Linked DNA regions of Homo sapiens: region 2 is linked to region 1. The links are contacts of gene promoters, found by promoter capture Hi-C in human tissues and cell types (Jung and others, 2019). All regions are on one chromosome and are shown on one strand. The core of a region is centred on a gene start or on the middle of the fragment in contact, and the rest is flanking DNA. Distances in the headings are between cores, read along the strand shown.

What was found. The method cuts DNA at HindIII sites, captures the fragments that hold promoters and counts their contacts. A contact is called where the count stands out against the background at its distance.
Region 2: a contact is called between a fragment that was not itself captured here and the fragment with the promoter of CTSS in region 1, in 1 of the 25 tissues and cell types used here (lymphoblastoid cells).

Annotation. Positions count from the first base shown.
Region 1 is chr1:150,764,528-150,768,772 of GRCh38, reverse strand. CTSS (cathepsin S) reads left to right here and starts at 2,995. Exons shown (of 8, transcript NM_004079.5): 1 at 2,995-3,075; 2 at 4,009-4,135. The coding sequence starts at 4,010. RefSeq lists cis regulatory regions at 3,049, 3,052 and enhancers at 2,977-3,121, 2,980-3,124, 4,055-4,104. The HindIII fragment of the contact is 11,511 bases long and covers 1-4,245 here.
Region 2 is chr1:150,631,251-150,635,438 of GRCh38, reverse strand. It overlaps LOC112268239 (a long non-coding RNA gene), which reads right to left. Exons shown (of 2, transcript XR_007066603.1): 2 at 1-608. Among named protein-coding and RNA genes, the nearest start is that of ENSA, 3.7 kb to the right of the region's middle. RefSeq lists enhancers at 1-424, 425-1,050, 4,163-4,188. The HindIII fragment of the contact is 5,269 bases long and covers 1-4,188 here.

The DNA of each region.
Region 1 (4,245 bases), core at 1,746-4,245:
ACAATAAAGTGGCTCACACCTGTAAACCCAGTACTTAGGGAGGCTGAGGTGGGCAGATTACCTATGGTCAGGAGTTCGAGACAAGCCTGGCCAATGTGGTGAAACCCCATCTCTACTAAAAATACAAAAATTAGCTGGGTGTGATGGCACATGCCTGTAATCCCAGCCACTTGGGAGGCTGAGGCAGGAGAATCGCTTGAACTCGGCAGGCAGAGATTGCAGTGAGCTGGGATCACACCACTGCACTCCAGCCTGGGCAAGTGAGTGAGACTCTGTCTCAGAAAAAAAAAAAAAAGAAAATTATTGTTCATTTATTTTAGATGTGATGATGGTATTGTGGTATTATATTTGTTTAATAGTCTCTGTCTTTTAAAGACACACACAGGGACATTTACGTATGAAATGACAGAATGTCTAGAATTTATTTAATATAATTCAGGTAGTGAGAGTGGGAATATAAATAAAATAAGATTGGCCATGTACTGATCATTGTTGAAACAAGACAATGGTTTCACGGCAGCTCATTTTACTACTATTTTTACTTTTACATGTGTTTTAAATTTTCCATAAGCAGTATCTTTTTAAAAAAAACTGTATGGCTACAAACACAAACATGTCTACTACAGCTGAGATGAATCAACATTATAATGATGTTACTTCTCCCTAAATTTATGCATATATTCAAATAAAAACTCTAATAGCCAGATGTGGGGGCTCATGCCTGTAATCCCAGCACTTCAGGAGGCCAAGGTGGGCAGATTGCTTGAGCCCAGGAGTTTGAGGCCAGCCTGGGCAACATGGTGAAACCCCTTATCTACAAAAAACAAAAAACAAAATCAGCCAGGCATGGTGGTGTGCACCTGTAGTCCCAGCCACTCCAGAGGCTGAGGCGGGAGGATCACTTGAGCCCAGGAGGTCAAGGCTGCAGTGAGCCATGATTGCATCACTGCACTCCAGCCTGGGTGACAGAATGAAACCCTGTCTCCAAAAGAAAAAAGCAAAAAACTCCAACAGAGTTTTTCAGGGAACTTGATAAACTGATTCAAAAAATTCATATAAAGAAGAGTTAACAAGTACAAAATACAAAGACAATGTTTAAAAAGAAGAACAAAGATAGGGTGGCCTAGATGACTTGCCTTACCATACGTGGAGACATATTACAAAGCTGTTTTAATTAAAACTGTGTGATACTGAAGTAGCAAAAGATAAAAAGAACAGCTTCATGAGCTCAGAAACTGACCTATCTATGTATGAGAATTTGGTGTACAATAGAGGTAGAATCAAAATTGGAAAACAAAGAAAATAAGCTCCCTACGTCATACCATACACAAAACTAAATTCCAGGTGAATTAAACACCTAAAAGCAGTAGCCATAGAAAAGATAAATAAAACACTCTCTGAAAGTATAAAAATAAGATGAGTGTATCTTTATTACATTTGGATGAGGAAAATTTTCTTATACAAAAACAGTATAGATTGATTATACGGAAAAGCTGAATAAAATGTTCTACCTCAACATAAAAAAATTTCATATAGAAAAACTCACTATAAACAAGACTAAAGGACAAGTGGAATTTCATAGGCTTATGCAAAGGAAGAAAAAATAAAATAAAAGACAAGTGGAAGACTAAGGGAGGATGTTTTTAAGGGTATATAACTGTCAAAGATTAGAAGCCAGAATATATTTTTAAAACACATACACCTTGGCCGGGCACGGTGGCTCACACCTGTAATCCCAGCACTTTGGGAGGCTGAGGCGGGTGGATCACGAGGTGAAGAGTTCAAGACCAGCCTGGCCAAGATGGTGAAACCCTGTCTCTACTAAAAATACAAAAATTAGCTGGACATGCTGGCAGGTGCCTGTAATCCCAGCTACTTGGGAGTCTGAGGCAGAGAATCGCTTGAACCTGGGAGGTGGATGTTGCAGTGAGCCAAGATCGCACCAATGCACTCCAGCATGGGAGACAAAGCACGACTCCGTCTCGGAAAACACACAACACACACACACACACACACCTCCCACAAATCACTAAGAAAATGCAACAATACAATAGAAAAATGAGCAAAAAAGATGAACAGGAAATTCACAGAAAATTCAAACGGTCAATAAATGTGTGAAAAGATCCTCAACCTCATTAGTAATTAGGAAAATGCAAATTTAAAAGATGATAGTTCGTCTTGCTCCCACCCCACCCAGGTAATCATTCTCAATTGGATATATTTGAGTGTATCCTTTTTTCCATGAATATACTAACACATACACACACACACACACACACACACGCATATTACTAAACTATACATATAGTATATATTAATAAAGACATTTTGAGTTTGATGAACGAAGGAATGGCTGAGTGAGAACCAGACAATATCAGATCATGAATGAGTTGTGTTAAAAGCAGTAAGACAGGTTTTCCTAGGAAATCATACAAGGAGCTGGGATTTGGGGAGCTTTATCTAAATCTCTTTATAACTAAATGTTTTCCATGTAAAAGTTGGTGTTTTTAAAATTCAATTTAATTTTTTTTTTGAGATAGGGTCTTGATATGTCATCCAGGCTGAAACACAGTGGCATAATCATGGCTCACTGCAGCCTTGTCCTCCTAGACTCAAGCAATTCTCCCACCTCACCCTCCCCCTCAGCTGGGACTACAAGCATGCACCACCATGCCCAGCTAATTAAAAAAAATTTTTTTGCAGAGACAGGGTCTCACTATATTGCCTAGGCTGGTCTTGAACTCCTGGCCTCAAGTGATCCTCCCGCCTCAGCCTCCCAAAGTGCTGGGATTATAGGCATGAGCCACTGGGCTCAGACAAGGGCTCTTCTTGATGGCTTACTGTATCCACTTTGTCCCCAAGACCATAGGGAAATGACTAGAGGTGACTGTACTAGCTAGATTTTAAATGAAACTGAAATGAAAGTTCACTTCCTCATTTTGAGTACCTCATGTGACAAGTTCCAATTTCTTTTCAAGTCAATTGAACTGAAATCTCCTTGTTGCTTTGAAATCTTAGAAGAGAGCCCACTAATTCAAGGACTCTTACTGTGGGAGCAACTGCTGGTTCTATCACGTATGTACTCTTTGTTCTTTTTCTCCCATTTGGTCTTCAAACACTCTGTGTTTGTAACTTGTTCTGCCTGCTAGGTTTTAAATCTTTGGTTTCAGGAAGTAAACTAAAAAATCGTGTCGTTCAATTTGCCTCTTCTCTATTTTTAAAAAGTTAATGTCTGCTTGAGCATCTAAGCATCTAAGTTGAGACTGAAACATGGCTTTCTTTGGAATATAATTTAAAGGCTTACATGTTTAAAATTCCAGATGTTTTCAATTAAAAAGAAATGGAAAAGAAAGTAGAATCCAGTTTGAGGGAGCTAGTCGCTGAATTTCTGTTGATGTCTCTTGAATTAAATACAGAAGTGGCATTTTAAAGAGTAGTTAATTGCCTCATTTGAAACAGATGTCTGATCATTAAAAAAAAAAAAACGTAAAAAGGAAAATTACCTACCTAAAGATGTGAAAGCAATAGATGAGAATTGTCTTTTAACTATCTGTAAAGACTGTGGATATTTAAACAGGTCAGTTAAGAAGAGCCCATGTATTCAAAAATTCAGGAGATAAACTGATTTTTCAGAGGTTTGTCTCTCTTAAGGATGATTTTTTTTTTTTTTTGAGAGAGAGAGAAAGAGATTTCCTTTGATTAGATTTGTTGGCAAATCCTGGAAAGTCCCTGTTTTCTAACCCTCTAGATGTGTTTGGTTTACCAGATATTGGGAAATTCCTGGAAATCACTTTTTAAAGTGCTACTAAGCATTGGAAGTAGTATTTCTGACATAAATCTGCAGCTGTTCCCTGTGACTATATATCCCAGGAATTTTCCTGTATAATTCTGTTTATAATAGTCTGTCCCTTTGATAGACTTTGCATTGTTATTTTCTCTTATGAAAACATGTGGTCACAACATATGCAGCTAATAGCAACACTTCCTATGTTACCTTTCCTTACACAGAATGAAACGGCTGGTTTGTGTGCTCTTGGTGTGCTCCTCTGCAGTGGCACAGTTGCATAAAGATCCTACCCTGGATCACCACTGGCATCTCTGGAAGAAAACCTATGGCAAACAATACAAGGAAAAGGTAGATTGGATTGCCACTCGAGCGATATGCTTTTAAAGGAGTACTGTTTTCTACCTCTTAAAATTGTGTTCTTACAGGCAGTGTTTTCAGTAAATATTTAAGCTGGGTGT
Region 2 (4,188 bases), core at 1,254-3,753, 130 kb after region 1:
ACATCCCATTGCCCAGGGACGAGCAGGAGACAGATGCCTTCCTCTTATCTCAACTGCAAAGAGGCCTTCCTTCCTCTTTTACTAATCCTCCTCAGCACAGACCCTTTACGGGTGTTGGGCTGGGGGACGGTCAGGTCTTTCCCGGCCAGCATATTTCAGACTATCACATGGGGAGAAACCTTGGACAATACCTGGCTTTCCTAGGCAGAGGTCCCTGCGGCCTTCCGCAGCGTATTGTCTCTGGGTACTTGAGATTAGGGAGTGATGATGACTCTTAACAAGCATGCTGCCTTCAAGCATTTGTTTAACAAAGCACATCCTGCACAGCCCTTAATCCATTTAACCCTGAGTTGACACAGCACGTGTTTCAGGGAGCACAGGGTTGGGGGTAGGGTTACAGATTAACAGCATCTCAAGGCAGAATAATTTTTCTTAGTACAGAACAAAATGGAGTCTCTTATGTCTACTTCTTTCTACACAGACACAGTAACAGTCTGATCTCTCTTTTCCCCACATTTCCCCATTTCCTTTTCGACAAACCACCATCATCATCATGGCTTGTTCTCGATGGTCGCTGTCTCTTCGGAGCTGCTGGGTACACCTGCAGACTAACAACAGATAAAACAGGCACACAAGGATTAATACGAAATTTATAATAGTAGTACTTCCGATGGTCTTAACCCAAGTGACAGGGTTAAGATTTGCGAGGCCATCAGTCACTCCTGCGATTGCCTCAGTTTCTGGTACCAAATTTAAATGGGCTTTTGATGCTTCGAAAATTGGTTCTCTATCTTAAGAGGAGACTCAGACTTAAATAGTAAGAGAATATTAACCCCAGAGGCAATAAAAGAAATTAAATTAGTGGAACAAAAAATTCAGTCAGTGCAAATAAATAGAATAGATCCCTTAGCCCCACTCCAACTTTTGGTTTTTGCTACTGCACATTCTCCAACAGGCATCACTGTTCAAAATACTGATCTTGTGGAGTGGTCATTCCTTCCTCACAGTACAATTAAGACTTTTACATTGTACTTGGATCAAATAGCTACATTAATTGGTCAGGCAAGATTACAAATAATAAAATTGTGTGTAAATGACCCAGACAAAATAGTTGTCCCTTGAACCAAGGAACAAGTTAGACAAGCCTTTATCAATTCTGGTGCATGGCAGATTGGTCTTGCTAATTTTGTGGGAATTATTGATCATCATTACCCAAAAACAAAAATCTTCCAGTTTTTAAAATTAACTACTTGGATTCTACCTAAAATTACCAGACGTGAACCTTTAGAAAATGCTCTGACAGTGTTTACTGATGGTTCCAGCAATGGAAAAGCGGCTTACACAGGGCCAAAAGAGCAAGTAATCAAAACTCAATATCAATTGGCTCGAAGGGCAGAGTTGGTTGCAGTCATTACAGTGTTACAAGATTTTGATCAACCTATCAATATTGTATCAGATTCTGCATATGTAGTACAGGCTACAAGGGATGTAAAGACAGCTCTAATTAAATATAGCATGGATGATCAGTTAAACCAGCTATTCAATTTATTACAACAAACTGTAAGAAAAAGAAATTTCCCATTTTATATTACTCATATTCGAGCACACACTAATTTACCAGGGCCTTTGACTAAAGCAAATGAACCAGCTGACTTACTGGTATCATCTGCATTCATAAAAGCACAAAAATTTCATGCTTTGACTCATGTAAATGCAGCAGGATTAAAAAACAAATTTGATGTCACATGGAAACAGGCAAAAGATATTGTACGACATTGCACCCAGTGTCAAGTCCTACACCTGCCCACTCAAGAGGCAGGAGTTAATCCCAGGGGTCTGTGTCCTAATGCATTACGGCAAATGGATGTCACGCATGTACCTTCATTTGGAAGATTATTATATGTTCATGTAACAGTTGATACTTATTCACATTTCATATGGGCAACCTGCCAGACAGGAGAAAGTACTTCCCATGTTAAAAAACATTTATTACCTTGTTTTGCTGTAATGAGAGTTCCAGAAAAAATTAAAACTGACAATGGGGCAGGATACTGTAGTAAAGCTTTCCAAAAATTCTTAAGTCAGTGGAAAATTTCACATACAACAGGAATTCCTTATAATTCCCAAGGACAGGCCATAGTTGAAAGAACTAATAGAACACTCAAAACTCAATTAGTTAAATAAAAAGAAGGGGGAGACAGTAAGGAATGTACCACGCCTCAGATGCAACTTAATCTAGCACTTTATATTTTTTAAACATTTATAGAAATCAGACTACTACTTCTGCAGAACAACATCTTACTGGTAAAAAGAACAGCCCACATGAAGGAAAACTGATTTGGTAGAAAGATAATAAAAATAAGACATGGGAAATAGGGAAGGTGGTAACATGGGGGAGAGGTTTTGCTTGTGTTTCACCAGGAGAAAATCAGCTTCCTGTTTGGATACCCACTAGACATTTGAAGTTCTACAATGAACCCATCGGAGATGCAAAGAAAAGCACCTCCACGGAGACAGAAACACCGCAATCGTGCGCCATCGACTCACAAGATGAACAAAATGGAGTCTCTTATATCTACTTCTTTCTACACAGACACAGTAACAGTCTGATCTCTCTTTCTTTTCCCCACAGCTGAGGCAGGAGAATCACTTGAACCTGGGAGGGGGAGGTTGCAGTGAGCCGAGATATCACATCATTGCACTCCAGCCTGGGCAACAAGAATTAAACTCAGTCTCAAAAAAAAGGACAAATGTATAATTTAAATCAATCGTTCCTTTAGCAATCATAGTTTTTACACATTATTCTTAAGCAGAGCTTGGAATTAGAAATAGCTTGATCAGAAAGTATTTCCCAAAAGAATTATTCATCTTTTAGATGAATCCCAAAGTGCTGGGGTTACAGGCGTGAGCCACCACATCCAGCCTCATTCGCCTTTTCTAAAAACATGCTTGAGTCTTGCCTATTCCCCAAAAGAAAATCTGCTGCTACAGCTCTGCCCTTTCCTTGCTTTACTGTTAAATATTGCTACCACTGTTCAATATTGGTACCACCTCCTCGCTCCTTAACGTCTTGCGATTGACCTCTATCACCTCCATCTTTAATTTCTGTATCACATTTAACATTGACAACCTGCCCTCCCTTTCTTCATTTGCTTTCCATGGCTCTTCTCTCTTCTAATTCTCTCCCTACCACTCTGATCATTTGTATGTCTTTTGCCAACTTTTCCCCACGTTTCTGTCTTGGGAGTTTTTTTTTTTTTTTTTTTTTTAAGAGACGGGTTCACTCTGTTGCCTAGGCTGGAGTGCAATGGCATGATCATAGCTCACTGTAACCTCAAACTCCTGGCTTCAGGCGATCCTCTCACCTTGACCATTCAAAGTGTTGGGATTACAGGTGTAAGCCACCGCACCTGACTGGAACCTCTTTTTTTCCTACATTCTCCTTTGTGATCCCATCAACTTCCACAACTTTACTTACATTTATGTGAAAAAGTCCAAAATTTGTACATCTTCAGCGTCTACTTTTCTCCCAAACTCCCACACTTACATTTCCTAGAACCCTTAAATTTCAGATATGGAGATCTTAGAGGTCATTTATCCTAAGTCTTCATTGCCTGGATGTCTCCACCAAATGGTTCATTCGCTTTTAATAAAGTCCATGTTTTCAGGCCGGGCACGGTGGTTCACGCCCGTAATCCCAGCATTTGGGAGGCCGAGGCAGGCAGGTCACCTGAGTTCAGGAGTTTGAGACCAGCCTGGCCAACATGGCGAAACCCTGTCTCTACTAAAAATACAAAAATCAGCCGGGCATGGTGGCGCACACCTGTAGTCGGGAGGCTGAGGCAGGAGAATCACTTTAACCCGCGAGGCAGAGGTTGTAGGGAACTGAGATTGTGCTACTGCACTACAGCCTGGGTGACAGAGCGAGACTCCGTCTCAAAAAAAAAAAAAAAAAAAAAAAAAAGTCCATGTTTTCAAAACTGAATGCCTTATTTTCTCTCTGCTTTTCAGCTCCATTCCCAAATTGACTCCTCTTCTTGAATTTATTGTTTCTATAAATAATCACCTTGAGGCACACAGTCTTCTCATTCTCTATTCAGTCAGCTGCTAGTCTAGTGGATTCCATTGTCACAGACTCTCTTGGTTAGGTTCACTATTTTCTATTCTTAACTACTACGTTTCTAGGTT